7 separate regions of the Homo sapiens genome follow, and all the other regions are linked to region 5. Evidence: promoter capture Hi-C in human tissues and cell types (Jung and others, 2019). All regions are on one chromosome and are shown on one strand. The core of a region is centred on a gene start or on the middle of the fragment in contact, and the rest is flanking DNA. Distances in the headings are between cores, read along the strand shown. Region 1 overlaps KCNG2 (potassium voltage-gated channel modifier subfamily G member 2). Region 2 overlaps NFATC1 (nuclear factor of activated T cells 1). Region 3 overlaps SLC66A2 (solute carrier family 66 member 2). Region 4 overlaps SLC66A2 (solute carrier family 66 member 2). Region 5 holds the start of CTDP1 (CTD phosphatase subunit 1). Region 6 overlaps NFATC1 (nuclear factor of activated T cells 1). Region 7 overlaps NFATC1 (nuclear factor of activated T cells 1).

The links. The method cuts DNA at HindIII sites, captures the fragments that hold promoters and counts their contacts. A contact is called where the count stands out against the background at its distance.
Region 1: a fragment that was not itself captured here is called in contact with the fragment with the promoter of CTDP1 in region 5 in 5 of the 25 tissues and cell types used here (H1 embryonic stem cells, IMR-90 fibroblasts, dorsolateral prefrontal cortex and 2 more).
Region 2: a fragment that was not itself captured here is called in contact with the fragment with the promoter of CTDP1 in region 5 in 3 of the 25 tissues and cell types used here (IMR-90 fibroblasts, mesenchymal stem cells and spleen).
Region 3: a fragment that was not itself captured here is called in contact with the fragment with the promoter of CTDP1 in region 5 in 1 of the 25 tissues and cell types used here (dorsolateral prefrontal cortex).
Region 4: a contact is called between a fragment that was not itself captured here and the fragment with the promoter of CTDP1 in region 5, in 2 of the 25 tissues and cell types used here (mesenchymal stem cells and spleen).
Region 6: a fragment that was not itself captured here is called in contact with the fragment with the promoter of CTDP1 in region 5 in 1 of the 25 tissues and cell types used here (dorsolateral prefrontal cortex).
Region 7: a contact is called between a fragment that was not itself captured here and the fragment with the promoter of CTDP1 in region 5, in 5 of the 25 tissues and cell types used here (aorta, dorsolateral prefrontal cortex, hippocampus and 2 more).

Annotation. Positions count from the first base shown.
Region 1 is chr18:79,880,198-79,884,208 of GRCh38, reverse strand. The region is part of intron 3 of KCNG2 (potassium voltage-gated channel modifier subfamily G member 2); the gene reads right to left. Among named protein-coding and RNA genes, the nearest start is that of SLC66A2, 69 kb to the left of the region's middle. The HindIII fragment of the contact is 7,076 bases long and covers 1-4,011 here.
Region 2 is chr18:79,466,372-79,469,682 of GRCh38, reverse strand. NFATC1 (nuclear factor of activated T cells 1) reads right to left here. Exons shown (of 10, transcript NM_001278669.2): 8 at 2,101-2,233. LOC107985162 (a long non-coding RNA gene) reads left to right here. Exons shown (of 2, transcript XR_001753518.2): 2 at 1-364. Among named protein-coding and RNA genes, the nearest start is that of NFATC1, 72 kb to the right of the region's middle. The HindIII fragment of the contact is 4,601 bases long and covers 1-3,311 here.
Region 3 is chr18:79,921,731-79,925,497 of GRCh38, reverse strand. The region is part of intron 4 of SLC66A2 (solute carrier family 66 member 2); the gene reads left to right. Among named protein-coding and RNA genes, the nearest start is that of SLC66A2, 28 kb to the left of the region's middle. The HindIII fragment of the contact is 7,930 bases long and covers 1-3,767 here.
Region 4 is chr18:79,902,581-79,906,427 of GRCh38, reverse strand. SLC66A2 (solute carrier family 66 member 2) reads left to right here. Exons shown (of 6, transcript NM_025078.5): 6 at 2,245-3,847. The coding sequence ends at 2,452. Among named protein-coding and RNA genes, the nearest start is that of SLC66A2, 47 kb to the left of the region's middle. RefSeq lists an enhancer at 1,626-2,261. The HindIII fragment of the contact is 4,811 bases long and covers 1-3,847 here.
Region 5 is chr18:79,678,425-79,682,303 of GRCh38, reverse strand. It overlaps CTDP1 (CTD phosphatase subunit 1), which reads right to left and starts at 2,501. Exons shown (of 13, transcript NM_004715.5): 1 at 2,043-2,501. The coding sequence starts at 2,356. CTDP1-DT (CTDP1 divergent transcript) reads left to right here and starts at 2,559. Exons shown (of 5, transcript NR_136643.1): 1 at 2,559-2,910. RefSeq lists enhancers at 1-235, 236-744, 2,360-2,868, 2,869-3,376. The HindIII fragment of the contact is 29,025 bases long and covers 1-3,879 here.
Region 6 is chr18:79,428,131-79,432,183 of GRCh38, reverse strand. The region is part of intron 2 of NFATC1 (nuclear factor of activated T cells 1); the gene reads right to left. Among named protein-coding and RNA genes, the nearest start is that of NFATC1, 34 kb to the right of the region's middle. The HindIII fragment of the contact is 6,613 bases long and covers 1-4,053 here.
Region 7 is chr18:79,498,129-79,501,872 of GRCh38, reverse strand. All of the region lies in intron 9 of NFATC1 (nuclear factor of activated T cells 1), which reads right to left. Among named protein-coding and RNA genes, the nearest start is that of NFATC1, 100 kb to the right of the region's middle. The HindIII fragment of the contact is 8,968 bases long and covers 1-3,744 here.

The DNA.
Region 1 (4,011 bases), core at 806-3,305, 200 kb before region 5:
GGGACGGAGCCCCTGCAGCTTCTGTGCTGTGCTGGGGAGCTGAGCTCTGGCTTCGTGCTGGCAGAGAGAGGTCGGCCTGTGCCACGGAAATTGCAGGCGGGAGGCTGGTGGGAGAAGAGGGCCCAGCCTCCGGGAGGCACTGGGAGAAGAAAAGATGGCAGGGCGGGGGTTGGGATAGAAACGTCAGGACGTGGGGACTGGCTAGACGGGGGCGGGGGACGGTCCCCACCCAGGCACACCCGAGTTGGGGGTCAGTGGGCCGGGCTGCATGGAGCCCTCGTGGACGTGCCGGTGGGGACGCCGGTGCAAGTCTGTGCTAAATGGCAGAAGGGGCTGCAGCCGCCATGACGGGCCCTGTAAACGGCATCATCCACTATCACCAAAGCAAAAACGAAAACATGCCTGCTGGGAACGCTGTGTGCTCACCGGCCAGCGTTTACCCAGGGTACCTGGAAGTGGAACAGCTGGCTTCTAAGACATATAAGCACATCCTCACCTTTACCAGACAGACATGTCTTCACCTTTGCCAGACAGGCCCCTCCTCATCGTTCACTAGAAGCTGCTGAGTTGGTCCCCAAGCAGCCACACAAATTCAGCCCTGTCCCCACCAGACAAGTGTCCCCTGGGTCACGGCCACAGCCAAGGTTCTGGGGCCCAGGGTGGTCCAGGCGGGGCAGGGTATAAACTCGTAAAACTCTGCACTAATATATTTTAAAAGCCTTCAAAGACTGTGTGCACTTTGACCTAGAAATTCTATTTTGGGGAGTTGTCAGGGAACGTCAGAAATGAGCCCAAAGATTTATGCAAAAGGACCTGCTCGCTCATCAGAGCTCAGCTTTATGGGTCTGGACAAATCACGGTCCTGGAACCACCACTACCGCGAAAACGCAGCGCAAAGACGCAGGACAGCTCCCCCAGCTTCCCCCCGCCGTTCCCTGCCTCACAGCCGGACCCCGCCCACCCAGTCTTGGCCCCCAACCCCTGGCTTTCCCAGGTATCCCATAGACGGGATCGCAGCGTGGCTTCCTGGCCTGGCCTCTCCCGCGTCAGGCCCTGCGAGCCCATTCGTGCTGTCCCGGGCACCCACCCTTTGCTGCTTTTCACCGCGCACCGTGGATGCACCGGGATTGATCTGGCACCGGCCGTCGCGGTCCGTGTCGGCTGCTTCCGGGCTAGGCCGTGCTGAATAAAGCCGGCTGAACACTCGCTCTGTACGTGACACACGCTGTCCTTCCCGCGAGTACGTCCTGGGCGTGGGCGCTGGTGTGCGATGAGCGCAGGTGTACCCGGCCTCCGCGTGCCACGCGCAGATGTACCCGGCCTCCGCGCTCCACGCGCAGGTGTACCCGGCCTCCGCGCTCCACGCGCAGGTGTACCCGGCCTCCGCGCTCCACGCGCAGGTGTACCCGGCCTCCGCGCTCCACGCGCAGGTGTACCCGGCCTCCGCGCTCCACGGCAGCCTCGCCACTCCATGGCAGCCTCGCCACTCCATGGCCTGCAGGTCCTGAGCCTTGCCGGCCGCGCACCCTCCTTTGAGCTTGCTGCTCTCGGCTGGTTTTTAGATCAGGGCCCTTCTAACATGTGAGTGACAGCTCCTGTGGCTTAACTCTGTATTTCCCTAATAACAGTTCAGCGCTGTATTTGCCATAGGCGTGTCTTCTTTGGTGAAGTGTCTGTTCAAAACTTTGTCCCTTTTAAAATCAGGTTATTTTCTTACAGTTGAGTTTATACAGTTCTTTATATAGCTTAATTACAAGTCCTTTGTTAGATATGTGATTTACAAATATTTTCTCCCAGTCTGAGGCTTGTTTTTTCATTCTCTTAACAGTCTTTTGTGGACAAAAGTCAAAAGAATTTTTTTAATAGAGATGAGGGTCTTGCTATATTGCCCAGGCTGGTCGTGAACTCCTGGGCTGAAGTGATCTTCCCACCTCGGCCTCTCAGTGTTAGGGTTACAGGCCTGAGACCCCAACTAGGCCAGGAGTTTTAGATTCTAATGAAGTGAAGCCTATCCATTTTCATATTTCATGAATCGCGTATCTGACGCCACGTCTGGGAACTCCTTCCTTACTCTCCATTGGCAAGGCCACCTCTATGTTTTCTTCTACAAGTTTATAGTTTTAAATGTTATATGTTTAGGGCCACGGTCCACCTTGAGTTGAATTTTTGTATAAAACGTAAGGCATGGGTTGTGTTTTTTTAAAATATGGGAGTTCAGTTGTTGTAGCCCCATTTGTTGAAAAGACGATTCTTTCTCCGTGCCCGGCCTTTTCACTTTGCCAAACGCCGGCTGGCCCCATTCATGTGGTTCTATTCCTGGACTGTGTCCACGACCCCACGCCTGTCCTTTCCCCACACTGTCCTGCTGTGGCTTCAGAACAAATCGTGAAAGCAGGCAGTGTCAGTTCCAACTGCTGCTTTTTCAAAACGGTTCCTAGGCCTTTCCATAAAGATGTTACAATCAGCTTGTAAATATTGCAGAAAATGGGATTCTGAATGGGATTTCACTGAATCTGGAGATGGACTATGGGGAGGGTGGACATCTTAGTCACACCGAGTCTTCAGCGCGTGAGCACTGCAGGCCTTCGTTGATTTCAGTCTTTATCAGTAATTATCAGCTGTATTTAGCTGTAATTATCAGCACGTAGATGGATCCTGGACCTAGGCTGTGAGACTTGCATGTAAGCAATTCATGGTTTTTGGTGCTATTAATGAACTTTAAAAAATTTGAATTCCAATAGTTCACTGCTAGCAACTCCCTTAATTTTCTTAAGCTTTGTTGTGGGTTTCCTGGGAATTTCTACATAGGCAGTTCTGTTCTCTTGCTTTCCAATCATACGGCGTGTTTCTACATAGGCAGTCCTGTTCTCTTGCTTTCCAATCGTACGGCGTGTTTCTACATAGGCAGTCCTATTCTCTTGCTTTCCAATCGTACGGCGTGTTTCTACATAGGCAGTCCTATTCTCTTGCTTTCCAATCATATGGTGTGTTTCTACATAGGCAGTTCTATTCTCTTGCTTTCCAATTGGACAGCGTGTTTCTACATATGCAGTTCTATTCTCTTGCTTTCCAATAGTACGACGTCTACTTTCCTTGCTTCACTGCTCTCTCTAGGACTGCCAACAGGTGCTGAAGAGGAGTGGGGAGCAGGCATCCTTGGGTTGGTCCCAATCTTAACGGGAAAACATTCAGTCTTTTGCTATGTATGTTGTTAGCTGTAGGGTTTTTTTGGTAGATGTTCTCTATCAGGAAAAGGAAATTCCCTTCTATTCCTAAATTGCTGAAAGTGCTGTTTTAAAAATCATGAATGGATACTGAATTTAGTCAAACGCTTTTTCTACATCTGTTGAGATGAACAGCTGGCATTTTTTCTTTGGTGCATTAATATTGTGAATTACATGGGTTGGTTTTGAGTATCGAACCAAGCTTGCTTTCCTGAGAAAAACCTCAGTTGGCCGTGATGTGCTGTGCTTTTTATGTCTTTACCAACCCCGATTTACTGATGTTTTGTTGAGGAGTTTCGCATGAGTTCATGGGAGACACTGGTCTTTGTTTTTACTTTTCTTGTCATGTCTCTGGTTTGGTATCAGAGGAGTATTGGCCTCTTGGAATGAGTTGGGAAGGGATCCCTCCTCTTACATGTTTCTGGAAGAGACCATGTAGAATTGGTGTTATTTATTCCTTAAATTTTTGTTAGATTCACCAGTGAAACTACCTGGGCCTGGAATTTTCTTCCTGGAAGGTTTTAAACTATGAATTTAATTTTTTTAATTACCATAGGATTATGTTATTTATTTCTTCTTGAGTGAATTTTGGTGACTGAGCATGTTTTTAAGTTAATTTTTGTCTTATCAAAGTAATTGTACATGTAATTTTTTTTTTTTTTTTTTTTGAGACAGAGTCTCACTCTGTCACCCAGGCTGGAGGGCAGTGGCGCGATCTTGGCTCATGTGATATTCAAAACCAACCCATGTAACTATCCCTACTTCTAAATGCTGATCTGGCCATTTA
Region 2 (3,311 bases), core at 250-2,749, 210 kb after region 5:
ACCTGGCCTGCGTTGAGCCATGCTGGAGCAGATGGGGGGTGGAGGGTGCAGCCGAGACACTGGGCAGGGGGTGCAGGAGAGATGTCCACGCTGGGCACAATGCTGAGAGGGGAGCCGGGGCCAATCGAGGCAGGAGTGTGGCTGGTAGGACAGGACGGCCGGCTGCCAGGTGGGGTGTGGACTGGAGGTAGCAGGAGCGGCTCAGCCCCACCGGCTTCATGCTGTGGCCACGGTCCTGGGGGCCGCCACCTCCCACCTGTGAAGGGCAGGCACGCTCCCCGCACGCCCCTTCTGCCTCTGAGATACGTGATCTGTGCTAAAGTCAGTGCTGCTCAAACCCACGGTGGGGACTGCCGCATGCTGAGCAAATAAGAAAAAAATTAATGCACTGCTCTGGAAAGCAATCCTTCTCTATAAGGCCTAGGTTTTCTTTAAAACATTCAATTTCTGGTCAACCATGCTTGAAGTTTAATTAGGACTCAATCATTATATTTTCAGAAAAAGATAAAATATTTTCTTCTGTAAGATATATTGTACTTTGTTCCAAGAATGGGCTGGACTCACTAAGTGTGGGCGGCACAGACCACGTAAACCCCAGGGGGGTCCAGAGCGTGAGGCCCTTCCCCACAATCCCGGGGGTCCCAGAGCGTGAGGCTCTTCCCCACAATCCCGGGGGTCCCAGAGCGTGAGGCTCTTCCCCACAATCCTGGGGGTCCCAGAGCGTGAGGCCCTTCCCCACAATCCCGGGGGTCCCAGAGCATGAGGCTCTTCCCCACAATCCCGGGGGTCCCAGAGCATGAGGCCCTCCCCACAATCCTGGGGGTCACAGAGCGTGAGGCTCTTCCCCGCGAGGGCTGGGCTGGGGGCTGCACATCACCCCTGCAGCTCTGTCTCACAGACACTCTTAGGGTACAGCGACTTTACAGCAAAACCCCATTTTCCACATCTTGAGAGGCCTTTCCAGAGCTTGCCTGATAAAAACAAGGAGTCCCAACAGTTTGGTGTGAACGTGGGGATTCAAGGGCTTCCTTAGGATCTGGTCTATTACAAATGCTGTTTACATTCAGAGAAAATGGAAACCTTCCAAAACACCCTGATTTTACTAAGAGAACGCAGCTGCTTTTGCAATTAGCGCCCAGTGTGTAATTTCCCTCTCAGATGACAGGAATCTCTGCAGTTTTTAGAAAAAAAGCAATATAAAAAGATTATTGATGTTAGCTAAGCTTACCCAAAATACAGTAAAATTCAGGATGACCGCTAACTGTCCCCTCCGAGCTGTGGGGAGTGGCCTGTACCCACAAAATACAGTAAAATTCAGGATGACTGCTAATTCTGTCCTCTCCGAGCTGGGGGGAGTGGCCTGTACCCACAAAGGAAGCCGGGGATGGCGTGGGGGACGCCTTTCTCTTCTACTGGTTCAGGGACTGAAGAAACAAACTGGATGGTATTTTCTTTAAGAAAACACCCTAAAGGTTAAAAAGGTAAGATGATTTTTTTTTTTTTTTGTATGAGTGAAAAGGAGCCATTCCCACGGCGGGTGAGGGGCAGGCAGGTTGAGGAGAAGGTGCCCCAGCCTGGATGCCCGTGGTCCCAGGAGATGAAGTTACCCCTGGAGAAGTGTCTCGGGGACGTCCGCCCAGCACAAAGCTCATTCACCATCCTTAAAGACCACATCAGGACTACAGGCTTAAAAGCAAAGTTTATTCCTAAAGGTGCCTGCAAAATAGCTATACCTATTTGCCTTTTCACCGTAAGCAGCTTTAGGGTGCAAATGCACACCAGGACCCCCTCAGTTTTTTGGAGCAGAAGAGCCATGTTTTCCCCTTGGCTGTTATACATTCGCAAGAAGCAAAATAACCGTGACTATCTGAGTATGCAACCCCCGCCCCCCACCCCCAACAGGGATCAAGGAAAATGCATCCGAAGCTTCCCTTTTCCTTTCCTTTTCAGGGCATCGATGGCTCGGTCTCACTAACGGGACATCACACAGTTAAATGTGCAACACGCCACGCTGCTTTACGGCGACGTCGTTTCTGCGTCTTTAGAAAAAGCACCCCACGCGCTCATGTTCACGGCTTACGGTTAGAAAGATGGCGTTACCGTTGGCGGGAAGGTAGGTGAAACGCTGGTACTGGCTTCGCTTTCTCTTCCCGTTGCAGACGTAGAAACTGACGTGAACGGGGCTGGTTATCCTCTGATTCCGAAATGGCGGGATCTCAACCACCAGAGAATTCTACAGGAGAAGGGCACACAGGAGGCACAATCAGCACCGGGCAGGCGATGGCTGCCGCGCCACGGCGGCCACACGGCAACCCCGCGTTTCCACGGCGGCCACACGGCAACCCCGCGTTTCCACGGCGGCCACACGGCAACCCCGCGTTTCCACGGCAGCACAGGACTGCCGTGACGGTAAACTCCCAAGCAGCCACCTGGGCGGTCCAGAAGCAGCTGATGACAGCCCTGGATGCTCTGTGCCACCTGCACACGCGTGTGGACACGCACGCTCACAGGGAAGGGGCTGCCCTTGGCTTCTTGCACACCCAGGAGCCGAGAGGCTTCCTCAGAGCAGCACAGCAGACAAGACCAACCTAAGACTGAAATCTTGTCAATATGGGGAAAGAAGCCAGGAAAAGAGAAGCTGTAAACAGAACTGGGACCGGGTGCCTGAGGGTGGAGGTTGCCCGGGGCCACCTGGGCAAGGGGACTGGCGGGGATGCAAAAGGCTCTGCCTGCTCTGATGCCAAAGGGTTGGTGACCTTCAGAAAACGACCCAAGGCTCCGCCGCCAGCCACTGTGTGATGGAAGTGCTCGGTGGCCCAGCACCTGCTCAGGTGACTGCAGCGAAACCCAGAGGAGCAGGTGCTTCCTGGAGACGCGGTCTCTGGGGAGGGCCTGTGTTTGTCACATTTGACGATGGCCGAGGCCCTCAGTCAGACCCCAAATTCACTCCAACTGAGGAAGAGGAGGCAGGCCCTGACCCCCGCAGACCCCGGGGTGGGAACAGCCAAGGGCACGGAGGCACAGACAGCAGAGGGCGGCGTGTGGAGGCTGCCGTTACCTTCTCATGTTTTTAATGTAACAGCCAGCAGCATGTTTACGAAACTCATGCTCCTTCAAGTATACACATGAAACACAAGCCATGGGACGTGTGGCGCTGTTCGCAGAGGTCGGGGCTGGGTGGGGGGCTGGGACACGGAGACCCCAACCGCGTGCTCAGGCCCCAGCGTTACTCGGGCCCCTGATGACCCTAAATGACTGGGGTGATGCAGGCATCCCTGCCGAGGGCGGCACTTGGTATCTGGGGAGAGGGT
Region 3 (3,767 bases), core at 773-3,272, 240 kb before region 5:
CCCCCCAAGCCTGGAAACATTCGTTTAGCATTGAATGCCTCGTTTTCAAGCCTTATCTTTGGTGCCGCTCTCTAGAAACACATCTCGGGAAGTCACGGCGTGTGAGTCTGCACTGCCGGCTGTCAGCTGTTCTGTTGGCACCTTGCGTGACCACGGGTGTGCATCCTAATTGCGTTCTTGCCCTTTTGTTCTTGTTCTCAGAGCCCCTCCTCTCCCACAGCCACCTGCCCTCTTGGATTTCTGTCGGGCTCAGCAGTGCGGGGGCCTGGCTGCTTTGGAAAGGGGGGTGCCCTCCCCTCCCAGGTCCCTCGGAATAGGGCCAGCTCTTCTGGGAGGACTGCCAGGCGCCTCTCTCTTATTTGCTGATTTAAAAAACTATTAATGAAAATCTCCTGACACAGGAATGTCTCAGAAGTGCAGAAAATGTTCTTTTCCACCGGACAGATCAGGAGTCACCATGCCCACCAGGTGTCCCCCGTGTCCGCCGACTTCTCCTGACTGAACTTAGAGATCTCATTTCCCGCTGTCTGAGCCACCCCAGGTCAGCCTCAGCCAGCGTTTTCCTTACCCAGCTCCTCCCCGCCACCTGCTCCAATTCCCCAGCACATGTGAGCTGACAGCTAATGGTAGATGGCTGCTAAATTTATTTCAAATTGTTCTGGATACAAATGACAGCACCTTAATTCCCAGACTTGGAGTTGAAGGAACTATTTTCAACTTCAGCATCAGAAAATGCTGGATAAGTATTTACTAATAAGTAATAAGTAGATACTTTTTAATAAAACAAGTAGATATGTCTGCATCTTTTGGTATAAGACAAGTCACATACATTAAAATTTTCTATTTCGTTATGCATTCAAATTAGAGAGATAATTTACATAACATTCAAATTAGAGATATAATTTACATAACATAAAATTCACAATTTTATCACCATTTAAAAGTGCACAGTTCGGTGGTTTTTAGTGTATTTACAGAGTTGTGCGGCCATCACCACTGTCTCATTAGGGGGCCTTTCATCACCCCCAAAGAAACCCCTTCGAACCAGTTTCCTTCTTTTCCCCAAGTTCCGTCTTCCCCCAGCCCCGACGGCGGCTCGTCTGCTGTCTGTGCGCTCGCCTGTGCTGGACACTTCATGGGAACAGACTCATTAGTGTGTGGTTCCCGTGTCTGGCTTCTGTCACTTGGTGTCCTGTTTCAAGGTCCATCCGTGTTGTTGCATGAATCTGCCCTTTCTTCCTTTTTGTGGCTAATACTCCACTGTGCACCAGGCCACGTTCTGTTTGGAAATCTGCCCCCACCTGCACCACGCATCTCAGCTGCCTCGCCTCGTGCCTCTCACCCTGCTGTCCCTCTGCCATCCTCGGGAGCCTCTCCGCCGGCCCGGCAGTGGTAAATGCACGAATTGAGGGTGTTTGGCGTGTACGGTTAAGCTCGCCAGTGCCTTTTTTTTTTTTTTTTGAGACCAGGTCCCACTCTGTCACCCAGGCTGCAGTGCAGTGGCACAGCCATGGCTCACTACAGCCTTGAACTCCTGGGCTCAAGGGATCCTCCTGCTTCGGCCTCCCAAGTAGCTGGGATCACAGGTGCGCACCACCACACCCTGCTAATTTTTTATTTTTTTTGTAAAGATGGAATCTCATGATGTTCAAGACCTCCTGGACTCAAGTGATTCTCCCACCTCAACCTCCCAAGGTGCTGGGATGACAGGTGTGAGCCACTGCGCCTGGCCATGTTTTAGATTTCGATGAAGTCCGGTTTATCTTTTATTCTTCTTTTGTTGCCTGTGCTTTTGGTTTTACAGCTAAAAATTCATTGACAAATCCAATGTCTTGAAGTGTTTCCTCATGTTTTCTTCTGAGAGTTTTAGTTTCAGGTCTTATTTGTAGGTTTTTGATCCATTTTGAGTTAAATTTCGTATGTGGTATAAGGTAAGCATCCAGGTTCATTCTTTTCTCAGAAACTGTTTAGTGAGGATTTTCTGTTAGTCATTTGCCAATTGACTCCTTCCTGGGGAAACTAAAATAGGTCTCCCAGAGATGGACCTTAGACCTGGCTTTCCCAAGTCTCTTAAACCCTCACCTGGCGTCCTGTGTCCGCAGCCCACCGTGCACAGCCTGCCCATCCACCACCTGCCCATGCATGACCCACCTGTCCACAGCCCCCCTGCCTGCCCGTCCACCATCCACCCATCCACCACCCACCTGTCCACCACCCGCCTGTCCATGGCCCCCCGTCCTCCACCCACCCGTCCACGGCCCCCCCCCATCCACCCCCTCACCGTCCACAGCCCCCCTGTCCATAGCCCATCCTGCTCAGCCCCCCTCACTGCAGCCGGGCTTCTTCATGAAATACACATGAGCCCACGCCCCGCTGTGTTCTGGGAGGTGCCGCGTACCATGCCCATCCTTCCTCTGGCCTTGCTTCCTGTGCAGCCCCTTTCCAGCTCGGATGCCGAGCAGCGTCTCACTCAGAGTGAGAGAGGGTGGAGCAGGAAGAGAGGCACAGATCTAGGGTCCAAGGGGATGGGGAGAAGGTGCACAGCCTGGCCACCCCTGCCCTCACTGCACTGCCAGCCCCACAGGCAGCCGGCCCCCGACACCCCTGGCCTCTCTGCCCTCTGATGCCCCCAAGCCCCCCTAACCTCACCATACCCCAACCCCCCCAATCCCTCTATCCTCACCCCTCAGCACCCCCAACCCCCTCGACCTCACCGCCTCCCATCACCCCACCCCTGCAGCCCATGCCCTGGCCCTGCTGCTGTAAGGAGAGGTCAGGTGCGGGCCTTGCAGGCTTCTTGGCAGGTTTGTCTCCGTTCACCTTTTCCCTGCCGCTATGTCCCCTGGACTGCACATGTCCACCTGCCTCCTTTAATTTGCTAATTTCTGAGAGTGCTTATGAGTGTGGTTTCTACAGAATACAGCATCTAGCAAATGACATCGTGCAGGAGGGATGTGGTACGGATTTACTGAGCGGCACCGTGGCCGAGGCGTGTTGTAGAACTCAAGATCAACTCGTTGAATCCCCAGAATGTCCTAGGAGTGGTCTCTGTCTCTTCCTGGTAACATCTGAGGAACAGGAGACCGTGGTTAACCCGAGGGGGGCTGCGCCCCTAACCCAGGCGTCAGATCCAGTGCAGGGCACTCCCTGCACTCTACGGCTTCTCAGAGATTAAGATTAATTTGAAGGATTTTAGCTTTTTTTTTTTTTTTTTTCTTTTCAAAGAGACAAGTGTCTCTGTGTTGCCTAAGCTGGCCTCAACTCCTGGGCTCAAGCGATCCTCCCTCCTTGGCCCCTGAAGAGCTGGGACTGTAGGTGCCCACTGCACCTGGCCTGATGTCAGCGTCTTTTATGTTGAGTTATTATTTGTACCAAGGCTCCTTCAGGGGGGCATGATCAAGAACACATGGCTCCTCCCTGATTTGACCCCTCGCTCAGTTCCCATCTCTCCTCACCGACCCTGACCTCTTACTCTGCTCCCAAGTTCCCGTCTCTCCTCCTCTGACCCTGCCCTCTCCCTGGGTTCCCGTCTCTCCTCCTCTGACCCTCGGCTGCCCCTCACGCTCTTGCTCGGTTCCCATCTCTTGTCACTGACCTTGACCTCTCCCTCGGTTCCCGTCTCTCCTCACTGACCTTGACCTCTCCCTCGGTTCCTGTCTCTCCTCCTCTGACCCTGACCTCTCCCTCGGTTCCTGTCTCTCCTCCACTGACCTTGACCTCTCCCTCGGTTCCTGTCTCTCCTCCTCTGACCCTGACCTCTCCCTCGG
Region 4 (3,847 bases), core at 938-3,437, 220 kb before region 5:
ACCACCATATCAAAATTTGTGGGATGCAACTAAAGCAATGCTTAGAGTTAAATGTGTAGTATTAAATACTGATTTTAGAAAAAAGTTCTCAAATCATCAATCTAAGCTTAAGAAACTATAAAATGAAATGCAAAGGAACCCCAAGCCAGCAGAAGGAAGGAAATAACGGAGCTAACACCAAGCAACAAAAATGAAAACAAAACTGCAGCAAACATAAAAAACCAAACTGAAAGCTGGTTCTTTGGAACAAATCATTAACTGATAAACCAGTGGCCAGAATGACAAGAAAGCACAGATCCCCAGTATTTGGTATGGAAGAGGATATTCTGTAGACCCCACAGGCATCAAAAGAGTACAATGAACAACCTCATGCCCATACATTTGAAAATTTGGATAAAATGGACCAATTCCTTTAACCCAAGAAGAAATAGCTTGAGTATCTCTTAAGTAGATAACCCGTATCTATGAAGGAAGTTGTAGATGCATAATCTAAAGTCTGAAAAGGCTCTTTTTCCAGAGAAGCCAGAAATTGTGTCTGTGTGTGGGTGTGTGTGTGTTTACAGAGTTACCAACTGATTAGAAACAAAGTGTTGAAACTCAAGTGTGAGCTGATGCTGCATGCCAAGTAAAGCCACGGGCTTTGTGTGGGAAGTAGCCTGTCCCTGAAGCAGGCGTGGTGGTGGCTCTCAGGCCTTGAGTCTTGTTCGCAAGCACATCCTGGGAAATCTCAGCCGTGTGTGAGGGTCAGGCGAGCTCTGTTTCCCATCCTGGTGTGAGGGGTCAACCGGAAGCTGCGTGGGGCGAAGGTGACCGGTGGCGGGGTCACCGCGCAATGCTCGGGCGCCTGCTGTGTGCATGGCTAGCGCAGGAAAGGCAGGCGCCTTTGCACCGGGGCTGTGGTCCCAGGCCCGGAGCCCCACCCCAAGTCAGCTGTGCAGCCCTGCCTGGGCCTAAAGCAGGCAGGGGGGAATTCCGAAGCCTGGGCTGACTGCTGGGGTGTGTGAGAGGCCGAGGGGCCTGCACCACCTTCCCCCGGTGCTACCCAGGCACCACCCTGTCTTTTTGTCTGTGGAAGAGACTGGATTTTGTGGAGCTGGAGCTGCATCCAGGGGAGGACACATCCCAGAGAATAAAAAATGGGAGGAAAATGCCCTCTGTGGGTCAGGGCCTTATAATTTAGCTAAACCGACCCAAGTGGAAACAGTCCCAAAGCCTCCTGGTTTTTCCCAGTGGGTGTAATGATAAAGCCGGATTTATGTTCTCAGAGGCCAACAAGATGCTCTAGAGCCGAGCACTGTGGGCTTGGGAGAGAGGAGGGGGTGCAGATGCCGGCTGTCTCCTGCGGGTTCCTAGCTCCAGCCCTGAACACACCCGGCCATGGCTGTGCCTGAAGACTCTCACACAGGGCGGCTACGGCACCCAGGTGCCCACCCTGGCTTATGAGCGGGACGGACGCCCCAGGGTGGGGGAGGGCTGTGTCCTGTCCTTTCTGTCCAGGCAGCGCTCCCCACCCAGGCTCTGCCTCTGGCTTCAGGAGCTGTGGAAGGGTCAGCGGCCGCTGATTTAAACATTTCACACGGGAAAGTGCAGCAGCACTCATGTTCACTGCTAGGCAAGCCAGGGCATGAACACAGCGGTGGGGGAAGCGTGTTCGGACTGGGATGGTGGGTGGCGGCTGCTCCCTGTTCACTCCAGGAAAGGAAGGTTTGCATCTATCACCAGGGAGGGAGGCCGGCAGAGACCCAAAAGCAGCTGCTCTGCTCCACTTGGCTGTGTGCCTGGGGGCACAGATCTGCGTCCTCAGCACCCTCCCAGGCCCGGCCCCTCCCAGAATTGCCACCGCGCACCAGGGGCCCTGACGTCAGCTGCTCGCCCTGCTGTCCCCTGTAGCCTCGAGCTGGTCTCACTGTTCTTGGGCTTGCAGAGCCCCAGCCAGGCGGCAGCTCTTGCGGCCACAGAGAAGTCAAGGGTGGGGGTTGCATGGGACAGGTGGGGTCAGGGTGTGTCCTTTGGCCCCCTGGGGTGTCCCTGACCCCTGGGTCACCCTGTAGACTGGGTGTCCCCTCAACCCCCTGGGTGCCCCCTGAGCCCCAGGCCTCCCCGCCGACTGCCTGGGGGTCCCCTTAGCCCCCTGGGTGCCCCTGAGCCCCAGGTCTCCCCGCTGTCTAAGCCCCAGGCCTCCCCACTGACTGAGCCCAGGTCGCCGCCCTCCCCACCGCTGACCGCCTGCTTGTGTCTCCACAGCATCAAGATGGTGCTCATGTGGACCAGTGGTGACGCCTTCAAGACGGCCTACTTCCTGCTGAAGGGTGCCCCTCTGCAGTTCTCCGTGTGCGGCCTGCTGCAGGTGCTGGTGGACCTGGCCATCCTGGGGCAGGCCTACGCCTTCGCCCGCCACCCCCAGAAGCCGGCGCCCCACGCCGTGCACCCCACTGGCACCAAGGCCCTCTGACAGTGGGGAGGACGAGGATGTGGGACCGCCAGCCGCGGGCACTGGTGGGCCCTGACCTCCCCGCGGGGAGGGTGGGTGCTGTGGCCCCTGCAGGTGTGGCAGAGATGGGGCATGGGCATTGGGGTCTCCATCAGCCTCTGTGGGGTGTCTCAGGGTGGGCAGTGGGGGTGGGGCTGGGACGCTGTTTGTGCTCAGCGGGGACAGCCAGGGTTGATCTGGCCCCGAGGGTTTTGGATGTTTTTAGGATGACATAAAAAGCAAGTGTTTTCCCCATTTCCTCTTATGAAACACCGTCTGAGCCCAAGGTACACATTGGGCGGCCTGCAGGAACCTGCTCCAGGTGGACACACGGGCCAGCAGCCGCGAACCTTGAAGCTGGGGTGACCGCAGGAGACCCTGTAAGGCCTGTGAGCGGAGCCCTCGACCCCGTGACACCCTGGCCAGACACCCTGCTTGGACTGGGGTGGCCTCTGCTACCCAGGGGTCTGGCACGGGGGAGGGCTGGGGCTTTCTCTGCCTGGTACACACGGAAAGGCGGCTGTGCGGACGCAGGGTCACCGTGCTCCGGGTTTTCTGACAGTCGGTGTTTCCTGGGCCTTTGGAGTGGCTGCGAGGCCTGAACGCCTTGTGGATCCGCTGTGTCCAGCCCGGCTGAGCATCGCCAGGGCTAGCTCATGCTGCTCTTGTCAGCCTCTGGTTCTCCTCGAGTCCTTGGGGACGTGGCAGATGCCAGCGACCATCAGACAACGTGGAGGCCCTCATGGGCAATGGCTGAGGGGGCCGGGCTGAGGCTGTGCACATGCAGTCTGCACGCCACTCTTGGGCTCTGCTGGCGGAGATCCCCTTCCTTCTGGGTGCAGACTGCACCTCCGGATGCAGTTTTGATGTCCATCTTCCAGGAGAGACGGTCTCGGGTCCAGGGAGTGGAGGGGGCTGCCCCTGCCGTGCAGGTCCTGGCCGATGGCGCCTTACCCTGCTGCCCTGGGCTTTTGGCCTGAAGCAAATTCCTGAGTGGGGGGTACTGGGGCCTGCCGCATCCTGTCCTGTCCACTGCCCACCCCCGTGTGCTGGCTCCCTCACTTCTGGCTGCAGTGGGAGCCGCCAGTCTGACCCTTGTCACCGCACGCTCTGCCCCCACCCCGTTGCAAGAGGTCACACCATGTCAGCAGCCTTGCACTGACCGCAGCCGGCCCCCAGGCCTCAGAGTTCTGGATGCTTCCGTGCGGCTCCAACAGGCATCGTCTTCCCTTCCGCAGGTGGAGGGGCCGCTTCCCGCAGGCATCTGAGCTCTGTGCCGGGGCCGTGGCCATGGGAAGATGTTCCACGCTGCCTCCTCCTCGAGTTTTCCTCGGAAACACTCTTGAATGTCTGAGTGAGGGTCCTGCTTAGCTCTTT
Region 5 (3,879 bases), core at 1,252-3,751:
AGTGACTGAATCTAGTAATTTTCAACTGTGTTCCACAAAGGTGCAGCAGGCATTTTGGGGAGGCCAACACATACCGGCTCCCAACGGCAGCCCCCCAGAGCCAGGGCAGTGTCATCTGGACCACACGGAGCCGACCGTCAGCAGCATGGACTCCTGCTGCAAATGCACCTCCCGAATTCAGCTGGCTAATGCAACTGCGAGGCAGGAACCTGATTCCAAACAGACGACCAGAACTGCCAGGGCACATGCACACAGGGCTTTAGACTAAAGCCCTTCCAGTCGCTCCTTCCTGGATCTATGGCACCCACGCCCACTGCACGGGCAGGAACACCTCCGGAAATGCTGACGTCACACCACCACCACCACACTCCCCAGAACGCTCATAAAACCCATGTACACAAACCCACAGGAGTACACAGAAACGGGGAAGAAGCCACCTCAAATTCCAGGCAGCACCGTCTGTGGCTTTCTCTAAGGCAAGGATTTACCTGCCGCCCATGGACTGGAGGCAGAGAGATGAGCCTCCTGGAACCAGAGGGACACCTGGTGCCACACAGACGCTCCATCTGAGGAGAAATGATATCACATCAGTGTCTCAAAGGGCCCTGTGAGGTACCCCAAGATCTCAAACAGCACCTCCCTGTAAACACTACTGACTGCTGGGAACCCGTCATCAAGCTCATGACCTGGCTGGCTGACTGACTGATGCACTGGGTTGGTTTTATTCACTAGACTGACTGAACATGGAATTTCAATACTAACTTGCCACATAACCAAGTTACTCACCTGTCTAGGCCAAAGCAGCCCTTTCTGTACAATCAGAGGAACAGAATGAAACCTCAGTAGGGATCTTCCATCCTGGGGTTTTCTGTCCAGGGAATACACCAGCATTGGGATCTGCCTCCACAATCCTCCCAGGTACGGCCAGTGCCCACTGAGGAAGCCGTGAAGGCATTTTCTGGGAGGCAAGGCCCTGAACCTCCCAGCCCCACCCACCAGCACGCAGGGGGCAGGAGTGAGTGCCCGTGCCGAGGGTCAAGGACCCAGGCTCTGTCTCCAAAGGAAGCGGAGCCAGGACGTTCTGGGGCTGTGACGGGAAGACTCCTGTCCCAGTCCTCACTCTTGCGGAACCAGATGCAGAGAAGATCCTCAACAAACACAGGGTCAGGGCAAGCCAAAGGGACGAGGAGCCGCGGCTGCCGAGGAGGGAAGAGAGTGGCATCCCCAGAAGGAGCGGCACCTTTCCCAGAGGGAGCTCACGCCCGGCCCACTGCGGGCTGGAGTGTCCACCTCTCCCTGGAGTTTCTGTTCTCACAATCAAAACTACCAGAGCCAGGCGCACACGCGTGTCCACTTGCCCGCCCATCCCAGAACACAAGGGTAGATTCAAACATGGCTGGACACTTCGGTGCTACGGAAACATATCCCCTTCTGGGGTCAGAGCACAGCTACTGAGAGCTGTGGAGTCTGTCACAACGCCCACGTCACCCTGAAGCAGCCTGCGACAATGCCCACTGTGGTCAACCACGGGGCTACTGCCTTCGCTGCAGGCCTGGGTTCCGCCCGTTCCTTAGCCACGAAACAGAACTGCACCAGGTTTTACAACTGCGTTTCACAAAGTTTACAAAAATTTAAAGATGTGCACACACCCAACAGTTTATATTTCAATAACAGGTCTGGAGCCTGCCTGATGACTCTTGTGCTCACAGCCACCCATGAGTTTTCCTAAGTCACAAAGGTGGAGCTAAAGGAAGGGGCGGGGACTATCACTGCAGAAAGAAAGAAACAAACATAGCTTTTCCAAACAGTAACTTCGTGTCGCTACGCAGGACCCTTTCCTTTTATCTCAAAATGCTCCCCGTTGGTAAAACCACAGGTGGTGACTATCCAGTTTTAGGGGAGAAGCGCAGTGCCTGCGTCCCGCTTTATCGCTCCCTCACCAGGGGCGCCCCTGCCCACCGCGGACGCAGCAGCCCGGGGGTCCTCCAGGATCCCTCCCCGGAGCCGCCCGCCCTCGGCCCCGCCCGGCTCAGCACACTCACCCTGGGGCGACCACCTGGCCCGGCTGCGCGCACAGCTCCCGCACCACGCCCGCGCGCTCCGACCTCAGCCTGCGTTCCGGCCGCGCGGGGCGCACGCAGCCCCCGGAGGCTACACGGGACTGAGAGGCCCCGGAGGACTGCGCGGAGGCGGCGGCCTCGAACACGGCCAGCACCGAGCCGATGCGCACGGCCGCGCCCGCCGCCACCCTCCACTCCAGCAGGCGCAGCGGCGCGGGCCCCGGGCAGCGCACCTCGGCCACAGCCGCCGTCGGGGCGCCCTCGGCAGGAACGCGACCCGCGGCCGGCACCTCCATCGCGGACAGAGGGCGGGCGGGCGGTCGGTACGGGGCCTGCGCTGCGCTCAGAGCGCAGCGCCTACCGCGGCGACACAACCCAGGCGGCGACGCTGTAGTTCCTCTCGGTACCGGCTTCCACCCGTCGCCTAGCCCGCGCCGACTTCCTGGAGGGCGCGTGACGTCACGCAAGGGCGCCGCGTACGTGCGTACGTGCGCGTGTAAATACGAGCGCCGCGCGGGGCCGGAGCCGGCTCCGTCCTGGGACCAACCCTGCGTGCCGGCCGTGAAGAACTGCGTTCCTGAGCCCTACCTACTTTTCCTCGGAGCGCCGGCACCGTGGAGCAGCGGCATGCAACGCGGGCCGCTGTCGCCCAGTCCCAGTGACGGTCTTGGCGCGCTCGGAACTACGTATCCCGGCGTGCACCGCGGACAGAGCATGGCGGGACTACGAGTCCCAGCGTTCAACGCAGGCCTGCGTGCCATTACCCCATCACGCGCTGAGACCCAGCATCCCGAGACTACGAGTTCCGGCATGCACCGCGAGCCGCTCTCCTCCACTCCCATCGCGCACTGTGAGTCGCAACGTCGCGGGACTACGGGTCCCGGCATGCCTTGCGCGCCGCGGGCCCAGAGACGTGAGGCTGTCGGCGTCCTGGTGGCCCCGCCTCGTGTCCCCCCCCGGACCCCACGCCGCGGGAGCTTGGGGGTTGCGGTCTTCTCTTCCTCCGACCTCACCTTCGATGCGGAAGCGCAGGGGCAGGTGCGCCGCCCTCGGCCCGCGCAGGCGGTGGGCCCGTCTGGGGCAAGGCGCCCGGAAGCGCCTGGTTGGTTCAGAAAATCGGACCGCAGCGGGAGGGCGGGCACCGGCGCGTGGTCTCAGTGGCCCCAGGCGAACCCTGATGAGCAGCAGCCGCAAGTGGCTTACTAAAGGAGCCACTTTCTACGTTTGTCTGGAATTTACGTGAATTAAGCTGGCGGGCGGGCGGCCAGGCCTGTAGTCTCAGCACTTTGGGAGGCTCAGCACTTCGGGAGGCTGTGGCGGGCGGATCACCTGAGCCTGGGAGTTGGAGACCAGCCTGCGCAACGTAGCAAGACCCTATCTCTAAAACAGATTCATTAATACTTAGCCAGGCGCGGTGGCTGAGGTCCCAGCTACTCGGCAGGCCCAGGCTGGCCTGAGCCAGACCGCTCTGGACTGTTTTAATTTTTTCAGCCTTAATACCTGCCAGAATTTTTTTTTTACTATGTATCTTTGTCCTTACGTATATAAATTTTATATACAATTGAGATTATCCTGTATTTGCTTTTCCCCCCTCACTTTTATATGGTGACTTTTCTCATGTTAGGCTGAATACTAACATTTTGGAAACTGTCGGCCTGAAAACGAGCGGAGACACAGTTTCTCTAAGTAGAGAGTTTATTTGGGCCACACTTGAGCACAAATTCAAGGCGCCCTGAATGTGTACTCCGATTAGCAGTTAACAGTGGATTTTAAAGGCAAAAAAGGGGGCCAGGGAGTGGACTAATAGGAACTTGTTTGT
Region 6 (4,053 bases), core at 1,095-3,594, 250 kb after region 5:
TTAAGTACAAGCCCCAGAGACATGGGACATGCGGGGCAGCTTCTCGAGAAGGGCAGGTTCCATGCGATGCAGTCGCAGAGCAGGGGCATCTGCAAGTTAAAGGAAACTGCCTCCCGAGCCCCCCGAAGGCCCCCACACCTCAGGACACACTGTGAACCCAAAGTGACTTAAAAACAAAACAAGGGCCGGGCATGGTGGCTCACGCCTGTAACCCCAGCACTCGGGGAGGCCGAGGCGGGTGGATCACAAGGTCAGGAGATTGAGACCATCCTGGCCAACATGGTGAAACCCTGTCTCTACTAAAAATACAAAAATTAGCCGGGCGTGGTGGCGGAGGCCTGTAGTCCCAGCTACTCGAGAGGCTGAGGGAGGAGAATTGCTTATACCGAAGAGGAGGAGGTTGCAGTGAGCCGAGATCGCGCCACTGCACTCCAGCCTTGGCGACAGAGCGAGACTCCATCTAAAAAAAAACAACAAACAACAACAAAAACAAGGCCAGTCGCAGTGGCTCATGCCTGTAATCCCAAAACTTTGGGAGGCCAAGGGGAACAGATCACTTGAGCTCAGGAGTTCGAGACCAGCCTGGGCAACATGGAGAGACCCCATCTCTACGAAACAAAAAATAAAAACATGAGCAGGACGTGGTGGTGCACATCTGTGATCCCAGCCACACAGGAGGCTGAGTGGGGAGGATCCCAGCCACACAGGAGGCTGAGCGGGGAGGATCGCCTGAGCCAGGGGAGGTTGAGATGGCAGTGAGCCAAGATCGCATGTGCTTCAGCCTGGGCGACAGGGCAAGACTCTGTCTCAAAACAAACAAACTAAAAACGATGGGCAGAATAGAAGACTCGTTTAAAGAGGAAAAAGCCCAGGAGGCAGCTTGAATGGAATCAACTACGTAATTTTTAAAAATACAAACACCTAAAATGTTCCTTAGCAAGAACAAGACTACATATTTTGTGACATTGGAAGCTTCATAGTAATTTGAAAACTCAGAAATGGATTTATCCAAAGATGCACCTGGCAGGCTCACCACCCACCTCCGCTCTGTGGGGTTTTGGGCCCTGCGGGTGCCTGCTGGACCCCAACTCAGCCACGACAGCTTCCCTGACAGAGGAATCTCCAAGACGCAGCTTCATGGGCTGTACTGTCAGAGCTGTTTCCCACGTGAGGTGATCAGCATGGACACCCAGTATCAGCTAACGCTGCCAGGCAGAAGGAAAGGCGGCTGGACCCAGGCCTCCACACAGGAAGGACAAGAGCCTCCAGAGAAAGACTTCTCTGCACAGAGCTCGCGGCCAGCTGTGAGTTTCTGGGGAAGGGAGAGGGGGCAGCTGCAGGGCTGGGCAATGAAGGGCCCCTCTGCAGTGGCCACACCTGCTCCTGGACAGGCAGGCACCAAACAAAGTCGCAGATGATGCGAGGCGGTGCCCGTCTCAGGCACCTTGCACCTATCTTTTGCTATGAATTGAAAAAGAAACAAATGAAAAACAAAATTCATGGCCGGGCGTGGTGGCTCATGCCTGTAATCCCAGCACTTTGGGAGGCCGAGGCAGACAGATCACCTGAGGTCAGGAGACCAAGACCATCCTGGCCAACAGGGTGAAACCCCGTCTCCACTAAAAATACAAAAATTAGCTGGGCATGGTGGCGAGTGCCTGTAATCCTAGCCACTTGGGAGGGTGAAGCAGGAGAATTGCTTGAACCTGGGAGGCGGAGGCTGCAGTGAGCCGAAATTGCACCACTGCAATCCAGCCTGGGCAACAGAGTGAGACTCCATCTCAAAACAAACAAACCAAAAACAAAATTCACAGTGAAAAAACTGGGCTCACTGGATTCCCAGGAAAGTTAAGAGACAGAGAAGAGACAGCGAGAGAGAGGAGAGAGGAGGAAAGAAGAAAAGAAAAGCCGCCTCCCCCCACCGCTGGTCTGGTTAAAGGCAGACACATTTCCTAAAGATAAGGCAGTCTAAACCACTCTGCAGCTGACTATTACATAAGAATAAGTTTGTGTAAACGCAGCCACGTGTCACTTTATGACAAGGACACATTCTGAAAAACGCGTCCTTAGGCCATTTTGTCGTCGTGGGAACTCGTGTGAACCGACTCGGTGTGTCCAGTGCACACCCTAGCCACGTGGCGTGGCCCACGGCTCCCCAGTACACGTCTGCACGGCATGTGGCTGCACTGAACACCGTGGGTGACTGCCCCACAGCGGTCACAGTTTGTGAATCTAAACACATTTAAACATGGAAAAGATGCAGTAAAACTACGCTCTCACGATCTCACGAGAACCCTCATAGGTGAAGTCCGCCGTTGACCCGACGCCGCGGTGCAGGACTGCATTTGGCTCTGGAATCATTTGCAGATTTAGTGACACAGTGTGTGCATGGCTTACAGCAAGAATGGTTTACAAAATAAATATCATAATCCAGACAATTAAGATGATTGGTTTTGGTTAGAAATTTTCAGCATGAATTTGGCAGCTCTACAAATCTGTGTCTCTGGTTCAGACAAAAGAGCCCAAATGAGCGGGAAAGGAGCCTGCACTGCTGCGGAGACGGGACCGCTGCTGCCTGCTCTCCACCCCACTCCACTCCGCGTGCTTCCTTCTGGGGGACGACGCCTGGGGCAGCCTCGGGCAGGCGTGCTTCAGTCGGGGGTCTCTGACCAGCCCATCCCCCGGAACGGCAACTCGCTTGCTGAAGCCCTAAGCTCAGGACTGAGATAATTCCAACAACTTCAAACTCATCTTCAACATAAGTCAATTTTTTAAAAAAGTGACACTCAACACAACTGAAAAAATAAAAAAAAAAGCTCGGGTGAAATTTGCATCCAACATCCACCTGGTCTGGATGGTGACCGACGAACGTCCACCCGGTCTGGACGGTGACCGACGCCCACAGAGCCAAAGGGTGTTTTTCTCTGTTTCTCTCTCTCTCCATTTTTTTTTTTTTTTTTTTTGAGACGGAGTCCCGCTCTGTGGCCCAGGCTGGAGTGCAGTGGAGCCATCTCGGCTCACTGCAGCCTCCGCCTCCCAGGTTCAAGCAATGCTCCTGCCTCAGCCTCCAGAGTAGCTGGGAGTACAGGTGCCCACCACCACACCGGCTAATTTTTTGTATTTTTAGTAGAGACACAGTTTCACCATGTTGGCCAGGCTGGTCTCGAACTCCTGACCTCAGGTGATCCGCCCGCTTCAGCCTCCCAAAGTGCTGGGATTACAGGCGTGAGCCACTGTGCCCAGCCCACTGGGTGTATTTCTATAAACATTTTTACAAAATGATACATCTTAAGAAAATGAGACACATAATTTGGTACTTTGTCTTTTCTTTTTCTCTTTTTATTTCTTAGAACAAGGTCTCGCTCTGCTGCCTAGGCTAGAGGGTGTGATCACAGCTCACTGCATTCTCCAACTCCTGGGCTCAAGGGATCCTCCCACCTCAGCCTCCCAAAGTGCTGGGGTTACAGGCACGTATCACCATACCTGGCCTTTTTATAAAAGAAAGATCACATTTTGAGCATTTTAGCTTATTCAGAAACAATCTAATCACAGCATCCCATTTATCACAAGGACCATCCTCATTGTACTGCTGGGCTGTGGGCTGTTCCCCTCTGTTGTTGTAAACGCTGGCAACGCAAACATCCACACAACCAACTCCCAGACCACATCTCCGGTCATGCCCTGAGCGCAGAACCACTGGTCAGAGGCGTGAGCATCGTGAGGCTCCCTGGAGGCACCACAAAGGCCACTGCCAATGGGTCCGGCTCACCCACTAGGGTCCGGGGTGCGCTTGGTCTTTGCCAATGTGATATATCAAGGCAGTTTTCTGGCCTGCTGTTTGCATCTTTACACGATAGTTAAAAACACCAGTGCAAGACTGAAAACAACACATTATATACAAATAATAAAAACAAACACTTCTAAACCAGCAGCGGTAAAACTTCTACAACATCCCCTTGATTTATTTCCTGTTTCTCACTAAAGACACCACAGGGCCTGGCTGACCTTCCAGCCTGCCCACCGGCCCGAGGCCGGCCCCCGCACCGCACAGAA
Region 7 (3,744 bases), core at 975-3,474, 180 kb after region 5:
ATTTATTTAGATCTTAACTTTCCCTCAGCAACGTTCTGTCATTTTCAGAGTATAAGTCCTTAACTTCTTTAAAGTTATTCATATTTTATTCTTTTTAATGCTATATCGTAGATAGGAATTTTTCCTTGATTTCATTTTTGGATTATTCCTTGCATATAGACATAATTTATTTGTACCCTGGTCTCACATCTGATGACCTTGCTGCACTTGTTTGGTAGTTTTAACAGTGGGTTTTCCTTTACCTTTTTGGCGGGGGGAGGGGGGGTGGGGTGTAGGCAGATTTCTCAGGATTTTCTACATATAGAATCACGTTTTCTTCCAATAAAGACAATTTTACTTTTTCCTGTCCATTCCGGTTGCCTTTTATTTCTGTTTCTTACCTGGCTACACTGGCTAGAACCTCCAGTACAAGGCTGAGTAGCAGCAGTGAAAGTGGCCACCTCTGCATCCTTCCTCATCCTAGGGGAAAAGAAGGTCCTCCGTCTTGGACGATTCAGTGTGATGATCACTGTTTTTTTTTCTGTGTATGACTTTGATCAGGTTAAGAAGTTCCCTTGTGTTCTAAGTTTGTCAAGAGATTTTATCATAAGTTGGTGTTGGATTTTGTTAAATGCTTTTTTTCTTGCATTTATTGAAATGATCACGTGGTTTCTGTCCTTTTTCTATTAATATGGTACATCACATGACTTCATTTTCTGATGCTAAACCAACCTTGCATTACTGGGATAAATCCCACTTGGTCATGGTGTAAAATCTTTTTTTTATGTTGTTGGATTCAGTTTGATAATATTTTGTTGTGGATTTTTGCTCCTGTGTTCATAAAGAATATTTTTCTATAGTTTTTCTTACGATACTTTTGATTTTGGTATTAGGGCTATACTGGCTTCAGTATTAGAAGTGTTCCTTCTTCATTTTCTGAAGAGTTTGTGGAGTATTGGCACTGGTATTATTCTTGTAATGTTTAATAAAATTAACCAGTAAAGCTCTCTGGGTCTGGGCTTTTCTTTGTGAGAATATGTTAAATTATTAATTTCTTTTATTTCCCTGCTATAGGTCTATTATACTTTTCTGTTTCTTCCTGAGTCAGTTTAGGTAATTCGTGTCTAAGAATGTTTCCATTTCATCCAGGTTGTTTAATCTGTTGGCATAAGGTTATAGTATTCCCTTATAACCTTTTGATTTTTGCAGGGTCAGTAGCAATGTCCCCTCTTTCATTCCTAATTTTTCTTGTTAGAAAAACTCATTAAAGTTTTGTCAATTTTGTTGTTTTTTCAAATAACTAACTTTGGTTTTATTGATTTTTCTCATGTTTCTATTTCATTGCTTTTTCTTCTCATCCTCAGCATTTCCTTTTTTCCACTTGCCTTGGGTTTTTTCTCTCCTTTTTCAACATTTTTAAGGAAAAAGCTTAGATTATTGATTTGAAATCCATCTTATTCCTCATATAGGCATTTAAAGCTATAAATTTCCCTCTAAGCACTGCCTTACCTGCATCCCACAAATTTTGATATGTTGTGTTTTCATTTGCATTTAGTTCAAAATATTTTCCAATTTCCCTTATACTTTCTAACTTCACTCATTAATTATTTAGAAATGTGTTGTTTAGTTTCCAAATATTTGTGGAAATATCTGTTGTTGATTTTCAATTGATATCCATTGCAATCAGAATATTTTGAAATTTATTAAGGCTTGTTTTATGGCATAGTAGGAAGTCTATCCTATGTGCACTCTGTAGAGTGTCCTACAGATGTCTTGTAAAGTTGGTTGATAGTCTTAAGTGTTTTATATCCTTTTGATTTTCTGTCTAGTTGTTCTATCCATTAAGAGTGATATACTGGTCTCCAGCTATTATTTTTCAACTATGTATTTCTCCCTTTAATTCTGTCAGTTCTTGTTTCATGTATTATGGGGCTCTGTTATGTGCAAATGTGTTTATATCTTCCTGTTCAATGTATCAGGTTTAAGATCAAAGAGAACATGACTACTGACAGTTCATTGTTTCTAGTAATATTTTTATCTTAGAGTTTAATTTGTCTGATATTAGTGTAGCTACTCCAAATTTCTACATTAACTCTGCCTATCTTTTTCATCCTTTCACTTTCAACCTATTTGTGTCTTTAAATCTGAAGTATGTATTTTTTCCATTATCTCCATATCTCTTTTGATTACTATTGCACAGTATCTCTTTATCATTTTACTTTCAACCTATTTGTGTCTTTAAATCTAAAATATGTATTTTTTAGACAGCATATGGTTGTACCCTGTTTCATTCTGTCTTTAACATCCAGTCTGACAACATCTACCTTTTTATTGGGGTGTTTATTCCACTGACATTTAATGTGATTATTGATACGGTAGGATTATGTTTTCCATTTTGCTATTTGTTCTCTACATGTCTTGTGTAACTTTTGCTGTTGTCATTGTTTCTATGTTCCTTCATTACTGGCTTATTTTGTGTTACACACATATTTTCTAGTGTATCATTTAAGTGCATTTTTTGACATTTTATGTGTGTGTGTGACACACTCACACACATATATATTTTCTTAGTGGTTCCTCTGGAGATTACAACAAGCATCTTAGTCAAAACAGTCTATTTCAGATGAATACTGAGTTCTAATAATATGTAAAGACTTTGCTTTGCTGTAACTTCCTTCCCCACCCCTTCCTTTGTGCTACTGTCACACAAATTGTTATAAGCACATTGTTATCAGCACAGGTTTGCAATCGTGTCTTATGCAGTTTCCTTTTACATCAGTTCAGAGAAGAAAAGTTTAAAACATGTTTGTGCTGTCTTTTTAATTCACCTATGTAATTACTCTCACCAGTGCTTCTTACCTCAGCCTGAAGGACTCCCTTTAATATGTCCTGTAGGTCAGGTCTGTTGGCAACAAATTCTGTGTGTCTTGTTTATCTGAGCACAGCTTTGTTTCTTCATCTCTAAAGATGAGTTTTACTAGATATAGAATTCTTGGTTGACAGTGGTTTTCTTTCAGCATTTTGAATGCGCCGTCCCACTGTCCTCCGACATCCACGATTCACAATAAGCAGCTGGCTGTTAATCCTGCTGAGCATCCCACGTACTGAGAAGCTGTTTTCCTCTCACTGCTTTCGGGATTGTCTCTCCCTTTGACTTTCAACAGTTTGGTTTATGTCTGTGTGTGAGCTGCTTTTAATTTATCCCATTTGAATTTTGTGAACCATTTGGATGCACTGAATAATGTTTTCCATCAAATTTAGGAAGTTTGGGGCCATTATTTCTTCACGTATTTCTTCTAATCATCTCTTTCTATAACTCATTATGCATGTGTATATGTGTTTACAGCATCTCACATGCTCTGAGGCTTTGTTCATTTTTATTGATTCTTTCTTCTTTCTGTTCCTCAGTCTAAATAATCTGTTGATTTTTACGTTTGATTCTTTTTCTCTGCCAGCTCAAATCTGTTGTTCAGCCTCTCTAATGCATTTTTCATTTACTTTTCAACTGTGTAATTTCTATTTGGCTTCTTTTTTTTTTTTTTTAAAAATCTCATTATGGATATTCTCTATCTGGTAAGATATATTTGCCACACTCCCCTGTAATTTTTTAAATACAATTTCTTTCAGTTCTTTGAGCATATTTATTGCAGCTGATTTAAAGCCTTTGCTGGTCTAATACCTGAGCCCTCTCAGGGGCTACAGATTTTTCTTCCTGTGGATGGGACATATTTTCATGTTTTCTTGCATGTACTATAATTTTTTGGT